2 separate regions of the Homo sapiens genome follow, and region 1 is linked to region 2. Evidence: promoter capture Hi-C in human tissues and cell types (Jung and others, 2019). All regions are on one chromosome and are shown on one strand. The core of a region is centred on a gene start or on the middle of the fragment in contact, and the rest is flanking DNA. Distances in the headings are between cores, read along the strand shown. Region 1 overlaps KMT2C (lysine methyltransferase 2C). Region 2 holds the start of KMT2C (lysine methyltransferase 2C).

The links. Contacts are between HindIII fragments. The study calls those that stand out against the background at their distance.
Region 1: a fragment that was not itself captured here is called in contact with the fragment with the promoter of KMT2C in region 2 in 1 of the 25 tissues and cell types used here (aorta).

What each region holds. Positions count from the first base shown.
Region 1 is chr7:152,200,238-152,206,380 of GRCh38, forward strand. It overlaps KMT2C (lysine methyltransferase 2C), which reads right to left. Exons shown (of 59, transcript NM_170606.3): 25 at 4,869-4,988; 26 at 2,697-2,827. Among named protein-coding and RNA genes, the nearest start is that of GALNT11, 180 kb to the left of the region's middle. The HindIII fragment of the contact is 3,122 bases long and covers 234-3,355 here.
Region 2 is chr7:152,433,642-152,440,181 of GRCh38, forward strand. It overlaps KMT2C (lysine methyltransferase 2C), which reads right to left and starts at 2,362. Exons shown (of 59, transcript NM_170606.3): 1 at 1,985-2,362. The coding sequence starts at 2,145. It also overlaps the pseudogene FABP5P3. RefSeq lists enhancers at 429-478, 789-858, 1,329-1,378, 1,419-1,648 and silencers at 2,129-2,188, 2,569-2,618, 2,709-2,998, 3,039-3,378. The HindIII fragment of the contact is 14,314 bases long and covers 1-6,540 here.

The DNA.
Region 1 (6,143 bases), core at 545-3,044, 230 kb before region 2:
CACTGTAGCATATTTTGTAATGTCAAGAAGTAAAAATGGCCTTAATGTCTATCAACAGGCATAGAACTATCCAAATTATAGACACTTATATTACAAAATACAACAATTTTTTAAAAGTATATAGTTCTATGTTATCAAAGAAAAAGCCCTAAAATACATTACTAAAAGAAAGTAAGTTGAATTACACATACAGTAAATTATAAAATACAGGTCGGGCGCAGTAGCTCACGCCTGTAATCCCAGCATTTTGGGAGGCCGAGGTAGGTGGTTCACTTAGGCCCAGGAGTTAGAGACCAGCCTGGGCAACATGGCAAAACTCTTGACTCTACACAAAACACAAAAATTAGCCAGGCATGCGCCAACATGCCTGTAATCCCAGCTACCTGGAAGGCTGAGGCACGAGAATCACTTGAACCCAGAAGGCAGAGGTTGCAGTGAGCTGAGATCACATCACTGCATTCCAGCCTCAGTGACAGAGTGAGGCTGTCTCAAAAAAAAATTAGAAAGTTCAAATCAAGACTATTATAAGTTTGCAAAAATAAATTATAAAAAAGTTTCTGAAGGACAAATGCCAAATTATTAACAATACTACCCTTTGAGAAAAGAGATTGGGAGTGTGTGAAGTCTGGTGGAGGCAATGATATATCTGATTTGAAATGTTCACATTTTAAATGAAAAAGTCATCTCACTATGAAAAATCTAAAAATTCACAAAACTAGAATACCAGGTAGAAGAGGATTCATTTCTTATAATAAGCAATGCTTTTATCATTAGAAAAAATGATGAACAGCAGAAAGCGTTTTAGAAGTTTAGAGGTCATTTATTTAATGCCTTCAGTATAAATCTGAGAAATCTTACACCATCATCAGCAAGAATTCTGTCTAATGACTCATGACTTTACTGGTGTTTATCAAAAACTGTGTCACCCTTATTAATTTAGTGTGTTTTACATTCCCTGTAGATAACATAAAGAGGGGGCTCCATCCATATCGTCTCTAAAAGTCCAAGAAAACTACCATTAAAAAGGCCTCCCTCATGTCACACATACAGACACAGACACACACACACACACACACACACACACACACACACACGCTGAAAGTTACTGATGTGCAACAGGGGAACAAGACGGCCCAGGAGACTAAGATCACAGCAGTAATTGGGAAATTAGACCTAATAATTTTAAAGACTCTTTTGCCAAAGTATTAAATGGCTAGTTTTCATACTTGCAGAAACACCTAAAGAAAGCTTCTTAAATTTATATTACACTTTACAGAAGGATCAATAGGAGGAAAAGTAGGTTGCCATCACAATATTCCTAGAAAGGACTATTAAGAAGGGAGGTAAAGGGAATCCCAGGAGAAAACAACAACAAAGATGAAAAAAAAAAAAAAAAAAAAAAAAAAGGTAAGCCAACCTATAAATGGATTTTTTTTCCTGACCAATTAAATGATCGTTTAAAAAAAAACAAAGGTGCAAACCTAGGATATAAGAGATTGAGGGGAAAAACATGTATGAAGGATATACAAAAAGTAAGGCACAGGCTAGGCACTTTACATACATACTCTCACTGAACTTCTGAGCATTTCTGAGAGGCACCACTATGTCACAAATGAGGAAACCGAGACACAAGAGATGTTAAACAGAACAAAATCACACAGCTAACTGGTAGTGGAATGGTGTTTAAATCCTGACTTTATAGGCTGAGCTCTAACATGAATACTGCCATTAAGATGTTAGTAGCTACAAAAAAGAAAATTGAGGAAGTTGTATGCTAGTTGAAAGGCAATGTATTTTAAAACCAATTAAACTAGTAATACCTAACTGGAAAATTGATGTAAAAAATAAATGCAACTCAGGCAATGAAGGGTTATCTGTGTAAGCCATAGTTTCTTAGGAGGAACAGATCAGATGAATAGTTGTCTACAATGAAATGAGGATGGCCTCTCAATGATAGTCTGTTCCAGTTCAATTTTAACACATGAAGAAATAGAGGCCAGGAAGGATGAATAACACGCTTAGGAATTTACAATTAGTTAGATGCAGAGCCAGATATTTAATCTCAGTACAATTTCTAATATTGAGCTGTTTCCGTATCACATGGCCTTAAACTCTGACTTAATGTTTACAAGATGAACTAGAAAAAAATTTTTTTTGTAGTCTACATCTATCAAACATAATTTATTCGTACTGAAAGGTATTTTTCTGATGTGTATTTTGGAAAACAAAAAGAATACTGCTTAAATCTTTGGTTCTCCAGGCCTCTAAAAGTGGTAACGATTATTAAAGCTATAACTTTGGCTGAAAAGCCTATCTTTAATCAATGAATATAATTAATGTAACTTGTATTGGCAAAGGAAATTTCAACAGAACTTGGGTGTGGGGTATACATAGCTATCAATGACTTGGAAGATTGAGTTTTTCCTATCCCAAAGTGTCCTTGTTACATCTTATAGAATGCTTAGAAGTGAACAACTGGTATTAAAAAAGCAATTTATGACAAGTATCAAAGCACACAAAAAAAGTAAATTTAATTTTTATGGACCCCTGAAAGGTAAAAATGGCATTTATGATGACTAAATGACAACAAAACAAGTAAAACATTAACAAAAACAACAAACCTATGTTTTAAAACTCAATACATTTTATTTCCTCAATTAACAAACCATGTAAAATAATGTAAAGCAAAATATTACTTGTAAATAGGCAGGGAAAGTTTCTTCAAGCTTATTTTTCCTTTTTCGGTATCTCTTCTTTATTTTTTCAGTGCTTTCAGTAACAGAAACAGATTCATCAACTAAAGTATCTGGTAACTGCTCACTCCAGCCTGAAACAACAGTCACATTTATAAATATGTGACATTTAAAATTTCTAGACAAACCCACTGAAGGTAATTTTATACCTTACCAACATACACACAGTTTCATATAAACAAACAAGCTTTTTGAACAAAAAAATCTCAAATCAAGTTTGTTACTTTTAAGTGCCATAAAATTTTGATTTCATGTCTACTTAGTATTAGCATTTTTCCTATTTTCTTAATAATCGATTACAAAGCAAAAACGTATTTATTTAAACATATTTTGTTAAAGAGTAAAATAATAATAATAATAATAATAAATACCCAAAGCTCATGAGTATGACGAAATGGCAACTTATAAACTATTAAGAGAAATTCTGTGGGTGTAACTTTTTTGTAGGGTGTATTGAGAATACTCAACAAAAACCTTAAAGAAAAAGTGTGTCCTTTAATACAGCAATTCCAAGTTCAGAAATTTATTATAAATTATTTGTAGGATATACACATTGTGAAAACATGACGATGAATATGCTAATAAATATGCAATGAACACTTATTCTTGAAATCAGAAATGGAAATAAATTTGGGGACTATGAAACTAGCAAAGAAACAAGAACACAGCTTAAATTTGACAAATAAACAATCAAATGATATTCTCAGATGCTTCATAATGGCAGGGCAAATGGCACATCCCTTCTGAAAATCAATATGGGCACTCTACCACCAGACTACGTAAGTGAATTGACTCTTCTGAAAACTAGAAATAGACAAACATTTTTTACAACAATCTTTTTAAAGGCACCAGTAACCTAGCCAGAACATAAGGAATCCATGAAAAACAAAAATTAAGATAAATAAGGAACCACAGAAGTAAGCAAAAAAGTAAAAGCTCTCCGAAATTTGCTGAAATCCAATGACCTCAAACTCCAATTTTCAGAGCATTGCGAGGAATAGGGAATAGAAGACAAAGCTTAAGGCCTCTCTCCAAGGCAGACAGGCCAGAGGTGACTTGCATAAAGCTCAGGGTCAGTTTAATAAGAAATACACCTTCACACAAACCATCACTTGCCACCTCCTGCTCACCACCAATAGCAAAAAAAAAAAACAACTCCTGGCTGGATGCAGTGGTTCACGCCTGTAATCCCAGCCACTTGGGACGCTGACGCACGAGAATTGCTTGGACTCGGGAGGTGAAGGTTGCAGTGAGCTGAGACGGCACCACAGCACTCCAGCCTGGGTAACAGAGGAAGACTGTCTCAAAAACAAAATTTTTTTTAGATATCAGCTGGGCTCACATTTGTAATCCCAGCACTTTGGGAGGCTGAGGCAGGAGGATCGCTTGAGCACAGGAGTTGCAGGCCAGCCTGGGCAACAAAGTGAGACCCTGTCTTTGCAAAAAGCCAAAAAATTAGCTAGGCATGGTGGTGTGTGCCTGTGGTCTCCAGCTACATCAGAGGTTGAGGACAGGAGAACTACCTGAGCTCAGGAGTGCAAGGCTGCAGTGACCCATGATTGTGCCACTGCATGCCAACCTGGGTGACATAGTGAGACCCCTAGATAGATAGATAGATAGATAGATAGATAGATAGATAGATAGATAGACAGACAGATACATAAATAGATAAAAACTGAGGTGCACTGTCACTTGAGAATTTCAAATTATATGATAAGTAGCTAAGGCAGTCAAAGAAAGGCTTTGGAGATGACCAGAAAGTACCTTATGTAACTAAGTTATTCAGTCCCTAAACCATTTATATTTAAATATAGAAAATATATTTAATAATTTGATACAGGAAAAAAGAGCTTGTCAAAAAATCTCAAAAGAATAAAGTCTATTGGATTTAAACCATTTCCTTATAAAACCTGATTACTGTATTACAGATATGAACTCTATACGCACTCAAATCCTTTCATCAATAAAAGGCAATAAGACTCTTATTGAGTAACAATAAGAGGCAATAAGGCTCTTATTGACTGTAACATTATTTAGGATAGTTTTTTCCAATAGAAATATCAAGACCAAAGGGTTACATTAAAAAAAAAATTTTTTTTTAAGTCAGTACTATACCATCATCTCTGCAAGGTAACTGCTCGGAAATAGAGCCTGAGGAATCTTTTCTGATCACAGATCTTTTGGTTTTCCCTTGCCCAGTTCGACTTCTTTGCCGCACCATAAATCCACCAATACCTATCCAAAAAAGAAATTAGGTAAACTGATAAGTAATTTCTCCCTACATTTCCACAGTACACAGGATAAAACTGCTTTATCTTGAATAGTAAGTCATTTTCCAAAATTAAATCTGTGCTAATCTAAATCAATAACCTGATTTTTAGGTAAAATAGAAGTTAAAAACGACCAAAAAAAAAAAAAAAAAAGGCAAAGCCACTCTTATCACTTATCAAACAGAATACAAAAAGACCTGTGTGCACTTCCTCTTCTCAACAGTATCAGTGTAAATATCAAACACTAAATTACGCTGGCTTATCTATTTGACAAATATTAGTGCCTCATACATCACATAACAGTCATGCACTGCATAATGATGTTGGTCAACAAAGGGCTGCATGTCAAGGCAGTGGTCCCATAAGATTATAATGGAGCTGAAAAATTCCCACCACATACAGACATCACCGTAGTTATAACACCGTAGCACAATTACTTTATTTTTTTAAATGAATTTAGCGTACCATACAGCCTAAATGTGTAGTAAGCTATACCATCTAGGTTTGTGGAAGTGCACTCTATGATGTTCACGCAACGATGAAAATGCCTAATGATGTATTTCTCTGAACTTAAGTGATGGATGACTGTCTGTATATTAACCGGCTAACTGGTACATTAGCTGGAGGATAGAAGGCACAAACTACCTAGATGACACAAATATTCTTTGACTGATATGATTTCAGGGGGACGGTGTCTGGTACTCCAAGGTATGAGGGCATTTATACATGGGACACATAGAGCCCTGTGTTTAACAGCATGGAATCTGGAGTCAGACTATGTAATTCTGCTTACTAAATACTTCTCAATGCCTCAGTTCTTTCACTGGTTAAAAAAGGGGGTGAGGCAAAGCAGCTTCTCATACACATGTTAAAAGGACAAATAACATAAGTGAAGTGCTTAGAATAGAGGTCTGGTACACAGTCAACACTATAAGCTTTTGTGAAATGATATCGTTGTCTAGCAATTTACTCCGTGACCTAATGGGTCCCTCAATTAGAGGGTTGACTTCCATGTGAGGCAGAGGAAAAGAAAAAAAAAACGGTAAATACAAGTTCCTGGAAGAAATCTGCAATGTCTAAAAAAGTACACTTATAAGCCTCATGATCAGGAAGAAATGAA
Region 2 (6,540 bases), core at 1,112-3,611:
AAATATTTCCAAAAGTTTTGATTTTTCATAGTTAGATTATACTGTTATTCAGCAGAAATTTTTTATCTTCTCCAAAGGCTGCCTATTTCTTCATGAGATTCAGAATTAAAATAATAAAGTGGCAATACCCTAATCGTCCAGTGCACTCAGGAGCTGCACTAATACAAATGAGCTCATTTCAAAAGTAGGGTGTGTGCGAGTGTGCGCGTGCGTGTGAGTGTGCGCGTGTGCGCGTGCACAAGCACGCCCTTACAGGAGTATGGGGTGTGGGGTGTGACAACATAGATCTAATCTTTCTGGAGTAAGAATTCAAATGCAAATTTAAAACAATACTTGCAAATTAATGTTCAGTAAGAGATGAAGAAATGCTTTGCAAATAGTGAAATGGGAGGCAATCAAGGTAAAACCCCAATATGGCTTGTCCTGAGTTGCTTTAAAGGATGCAAAAAAAAGTGGCTTACATGTCTAAAAATTACTTAAACCTCCACTTCCTTCTACAAATTTCAGTTAATACAGAATAAGGGCATTTTATACTTGCCACTGTATTACAACGCAAGTGGCATAATAAATAAGTCCTAACTTTGTATCACGAACAAGCTAATGTAATAATGTACACACATCCTGTACTTGCTTCCCTCACGATTATCATAGCTAGGTAACAGCTGGCAATAAAATATGGAGGCAAGTTGAAGGCCCTGAATCATTTTCATAGTAAAAGGACAGCGGGGCAAGAAAAGAGCACATTCAAGTCAAGAGCTCAATGGGTTCCCACAACCCAGCTCTGCTATGCCTCAGTTCACGCTACTATTTTTACTACAAATCACCAAACAACAATACTATTACTAAGTGAATGCACCCGAACCAAAGAAACAGCCTATCCATAAACGTGCTGGCTTCCTTCACGTCCCAGCGCACCCTTCCACTCCCGACAGTTCAATGAGAATATCATCTCACGAAATGAGTAAGCACACACGCCATTCTACAACTTCGAGAGACATTCACAGTTCTTCCACGGCACACGCGAGAGCCACAGAAGCCGAGCAGTTCGCTGGCACTAAAACGGTGTCTTAATTTACAAGCAAAGCCGTCAAATAACCGTTCTGTAAGAAGACATTTCTGGTCCTCTAATAAGCTGGGGTCCAGCCCTACTGTACGCTCAAAGGCAGGCGACCCTATTCCCAAGCCCCTTACAGCTAAGACTTACGAGGGAAGCGACATTTACATCTGCACTCTCTCCGAATAAGTGCTCTTGGTATTCTGCCTTACGAGGGGACGCTGGCTACGTCTCCAAAACTTAGGCAGGCCGTTCCCCGAAGCTGGGGGATCCCACAGGACTTGTGCTTTCGGAGCCCGGGAGTGCGGTGCTGGGTGTTGGGGGAGGGGGGAGGAAGAAGTCAAATGGCTTCCTAATATATCATCAAAAGAAGAAAACACAGGTTTGGGACCAGGAAAAGTTCCAGGAGCAAGTCGCTGACAAACAAAAGCTGCACTCGCCCGGCCGCTTTCTTCTCGCCCCCAGCCCGCGCCCCGAGACCACCTGGCCCGGGCGTTTTGACAGCTCCGAGAGTTTCCCGAGCGCCGACGGCTCGGCGGTTCGCCCGGAGTCCGTCCGGGGACTACCTGGGCGCGCTCCGGGCTTGTTTTCTCAATGATCCAGCTAGGCCAAGACGCGGCTACGAGAAATTTCTCCAAAAGAAGAGTCGCGGAGAAGACCCAGTGAAAAGGCCCGACTGAAAAGTAAAGTGTGCGGAGCCGGGCGCCGGCGGGAGCCCGGGCGGGCGGCGCGGAGCGGGGGAGGCCGGGCGCGGGCGGCTACCGAGGGGCGCGGGGCCGGGGCCGGGAGCCGCCACCGCCCGCGGGCCCGCCCCGCCCCCACCCCGCCGGGGGGCGCCGGGGCGCGGAGGCCGCGGGGCGGGCGCCCGGTGACAGCTCCGGCCCGGCGCCGCCGCTGGCTCCCGGCCTGGCTCCCTCGCACTCAACTTACTTCTTTCTGGCTCTCTGGAAAGGGGAAGCGCCATCTTTGCGAGGCCGGCCCCGAGGTCTTTTGTCTGCGGCTGCGGGGCTCGGGGCCGGGGCTCCAGGCTCCTCGGGGGGTGGTGGCGGCGGCTGCGGCTGCTCCACGCTCTTGTCCTCCTCCGACGACATCCTAGTCACCAGGAAAGACACATGGATCCCGGTCCTCCTCCTGGGGGGCTCCCGCCGCCGCGGCCGCCGCCGCCGCCGCTGCTGCTCGGGTTCCTCCTCCCCGGCTCAGCCTCTCGCATTTCCCGCAGCCCCGGGAGCAGCAGCAGGTACCGGGAGAGGCGGCAACATGGAGCGAGCAGGACACGCACTCACACACATCGGCGCGGGCGCGCGCACCTCCGCGCGCAGGGGCCGGGCGGGGGGCGGCGGGCGGGGCGGGCGGTGCGGGGCGGGCGGGGCCGGCGGGTGCGGGCGGGCGGGGCAGCCGGGCGGGCGGGCGGCGTGAGGGGCGCCGGCCCCCGGGGTCTCCGCCCGCGGCCCCTCCCCCGAGCCGCCCGCGGCAGGAGGAGAAAGGGGCCCGGCGCGGGGAGGGCCGGCCGCGGGGCCCGGCGGGGGCGGCGAGGGGGTCGCGCCCCCGGCCGGCCGCCCCTCCCCCGCGCGTCAGGCCCGTCAGGCCCGGGCGGCGGCGGCGGCGAAGTTTTGACAGCTGCTCCAGTGGCGGCGCTGGGCGCCGGGCCGCGGCTCGCTCCTCACACTCGCTCTCTCACACACGCTCGCTCGCTCTCCCGGAGCAGGGGAGGAGGAAGTTTTGCGGGTGTGCTTGGACCCCACACACACGCCGCGCGACCGTGGCCGTCGCGCGAGGCCCGCGCCGGGGATCCCCCGGGGCGACCCGCACCACAGACCTCTCCAACTCGCAGCCGTCGCGCCCACACACCGCCGCCTCGACGGCCCCCGCCCGCTCCCCCACACTCGGCCCCTCGCCCGCCCCCCGCGCGCCGCCGCTGCCACTCACGGGCCTCGCTCCGCGCATGCGCCGCTCCCGCCGCCCGCGGACGCGCCGCCGCCGCTGACCTCACCGCCCCTCCCCCTCCCCCCCGGGTTCCCTCCCCCTGTGACGCGGCGGCCGGGCCCAGCCGCGACTCCGGCTCCGGCTCCGGCTCCGGCTCGGGAGGTAGCCAAGCTGTGGACCCAGAGATCCGGGATCGGGATCGGGGAACTGCGGGCGAGGGCGGGAGGGAGCCGCGGACACACGCCGAGGCGGCCGCGGTCGCCCGGCGCAGCCCGGCGCGAGGAGCAAATGTGCGCCCGCACGGCGAGGGCAGCCCGGGCTTCGCTGGTTCTCGCCGAGGTCTTTCCTCGTAGCGCCCACACTACGGGGAGGAAAAGGAATGGAGTCAACTTCGTTCGAATCCAACGCCAGTTAGTTTCCTTATTATAACGTCATTTTTTTTAATCCAGAAAAGGTTCATAAGGATGTAAGACGAAAAGAACGATGACAGCTCGAGAAATAAAACGGTTAGAGACAAAATAAGCCAATAAAAACCCAACCACTTGATTTTAACGTTCAGTGTGTTGTGATGAAGAGGCAAAAATCGAAGTACTTCTAAGCCACCTCTCATAATATGTAAAAATGGTAAAAAGAAAAATGGGGCTAGAATCCGCCTGAAAAATGCACTTTCTCAAGAAGGACAGTTACAAATATGGGATTCTGGATTTCTCAGGCTAATACCTAACACTTGGACGATGATCTATTCTGTGCTTTCCATTCACTATCGATTAGTTTATGAGAGTGAAAAAATTCTAGATTTGAATGGGGGGAAATAGTAAGACCTATCAACCATTTGTGAAGGATTGGGGTAAACTATCATTTAATAAGCATCTACTTTGGGCCTAGCGTTAAGAGGCACACTCTCATGTTGATTTCTTTTGATCTTCGCAGTGTAGTTTTAGTGTAAGGTAAAAAAAAATAGGCTCCTTTTCCAGCGATGTTTGCTTTCCCTTCTAGTAGCTAGGATGTTAACTTTAAACTGTGTCTTCTACTTGGGCAAAATACACACACTTTGATTCCCAGAGCCTATTCTAAATGAAAGCATAATTTTTTGAAATGGCTGAAATGAGGAATAACGTCAGATAGTCATTTGAATACCTTCAGGGTTTAATCCCTGCTGGCTCTTTCAAATTTACTAAATTTATAACCAAAGGAAATTTGGGATTGAGGAGGAGGCTGGCATGGTAAATGCAAACTAGAAATTAAAAGTGCCTGACGATTACACATAGAAATACAACATATATGTGACTAGTGATAAACATATGATGTGATCTAGTGAAAGTTTACTCAGTACAAATTTGAAAGCACCCTTTCTTTTTTCATTTTCTTCAGCACATTGTACTTTAAATAAAGTGTGCTTTCAAAACTGGATTATTGATCCAAATATTTAGCTGTGTTCCGTACTGAAATTAGAATAGGCACTTCCACGGTGAGTTTCACATGTACAAAATTATACATCAGGATAATTTACTTCCATACGCTTCTCCAGCACTTCTGAGAACTTAAGTGTCAGTGGATACAAATTGCAAGTCACTCCTGCTGGAGAGTTCACAAGAAACAAAGGGTACTAAGAGCAGAAAAGTGAGCCGAGTGAATGGAAGGGTAGAAACAGAGGTTTGTGCAGGGATGCTTCTGGATAGATGATGATGCAGGTAAGTAAACTCAGCCTGAAATCTCCATTCCTTTGGCCACTATGAGCAGGGAGTTGGGATCTGTTTTAAGAGAGCTGATAGCAGTCTCCTTGGCATGAAGTTATCATGAACAGAGCAAATCAAATATAACCCAGGATGCTGAGGAAGGATTCAAGGAATACTTATTCAACATAAATAAAGGTTTTCCAGAGGTTTTTCCGTCTCAGTCATCCAAATTACACAGCTCTGAGACCACAGTAGCAAAAATCTAGGAGGCAGGGAGCTGAGGTCCTTCAAAATTATGAAAGCAAAAAGGCAGGAGCATCTGGAAACAGTACCAAATACAACAGAAAAATATTAGAATGTGTACTTTCTAATAAGTATACATGTTAAATATGGGATTTTAAATTTAGGTAGATGTGTACTAACCTGTTAACCAATCATCTGCAAAGGGGTGAATTACAAGGGACTTTTACTGTCTAAAATATTTGAATATTTCAAAGCACATGTAGTAATCATCTAATCATATATATATATATATATATGTAGTTTTTAATGGGGAGGGAATGAGCATTGTTATCTTTGACAAAGAAAAACCAACATCTCAGAAAAATATAGGCAAGGAAGATTCTCAAAGCATCTAGCAAACAAGTGACAGTGAATAAAAATTCATAGTCCAATATTCATTCTTACTAATTGAAGGCCTATAACATGTGATTGTCTTTATTTAGAATGCACAGGTTCACTACTAAATGTTGTCTCTCTTGTTTTCCCATAAATTCCTCAGGGCTTTTTAGGAACCAAACTTTCACTGTTATAGAAGGACCACTGAAAGCTTAAATTTTAGATCTTAGAATTTTTGTGTTCATATTGTTATTATTAAAGTTGCACTGTAGGCTGGGCACTGTGGCTCATGCCTGTAATCCTAGCACTTTGGAAGGCCAAGGCGGGTGGATCACTTGAGCTCAGGAGTTCGAGACCAGCCTGGGCAACATAGTGAGACCTCCGTCTCTACAAAAAAATACCAAAGAAAATTAACCAGGCCTGGCTGGGCGCGGTGGCTCACACCTGTAATCCCAGCACTTTGGGAGGCCAAGGCAGGCGGATCATGAGGTCAGGAGATCGAGACCATTCTGGCTAACAAGGTGAAACCCTGTCTCTACTAAAAAAGCAAAAAATTAGCCGGGCGTGCTGGCAGGCACCTGTAGTCCCAGCTACTCGGGAGGCTGAGGCAGGAGAATGGCGTGTACCCGGGAGACGGAGCTTGCAGTGAGCTGAGATCGCGCCACTGCACTCCAGCCTGGGTGACGGAGTGAGACTCCGTCTCAAAAAAAAAAAAAAGAAAAAAAAATTAACCAGGCCTGGTGGCACATGCTTGTAGTCCCAGCTACTTGGGAGGCCGAAGTGGGAGACAGTCTTGCTCTGTCACCTAGGCTAGAGTGCAGTGATGCGATCTCGGCTCACAGCAACCTCCACCTCAAATTTGCCGGGCACGGTGGCTCATGCCTGTAGTCCCAGCACTTTGGGAGGCCAAGGCAGGCAGATCACTTGAGGTCAGGAGTTCGAGACCAGCCTGGCCAACATGGTGAATCCCCATCTCTACTAAAAATACAAAAATTAGCCTGGCATGGTGACGTGCGCCTGTAATCCCCGCTATTCTGGAGGCTGAGACAGGAGAATTGTTTGAACCCAGGAGGCGGAGGTTGCAGTGAGCCGAGATCGCGCCATTGCACTCTAGCCTGGGCAACAAGAGCGAAACTCTGCCTCAAAAAAAAAAAAATTCATATTGCTATATAAGTTATTTCAGTAAAGTATATCATGTGCCTGTTTGGTGGAAAAGTTAAAGGAAGAAACCAGGAAGGAAACAAGCAGAACAGTCATCTTCAAAAGTAA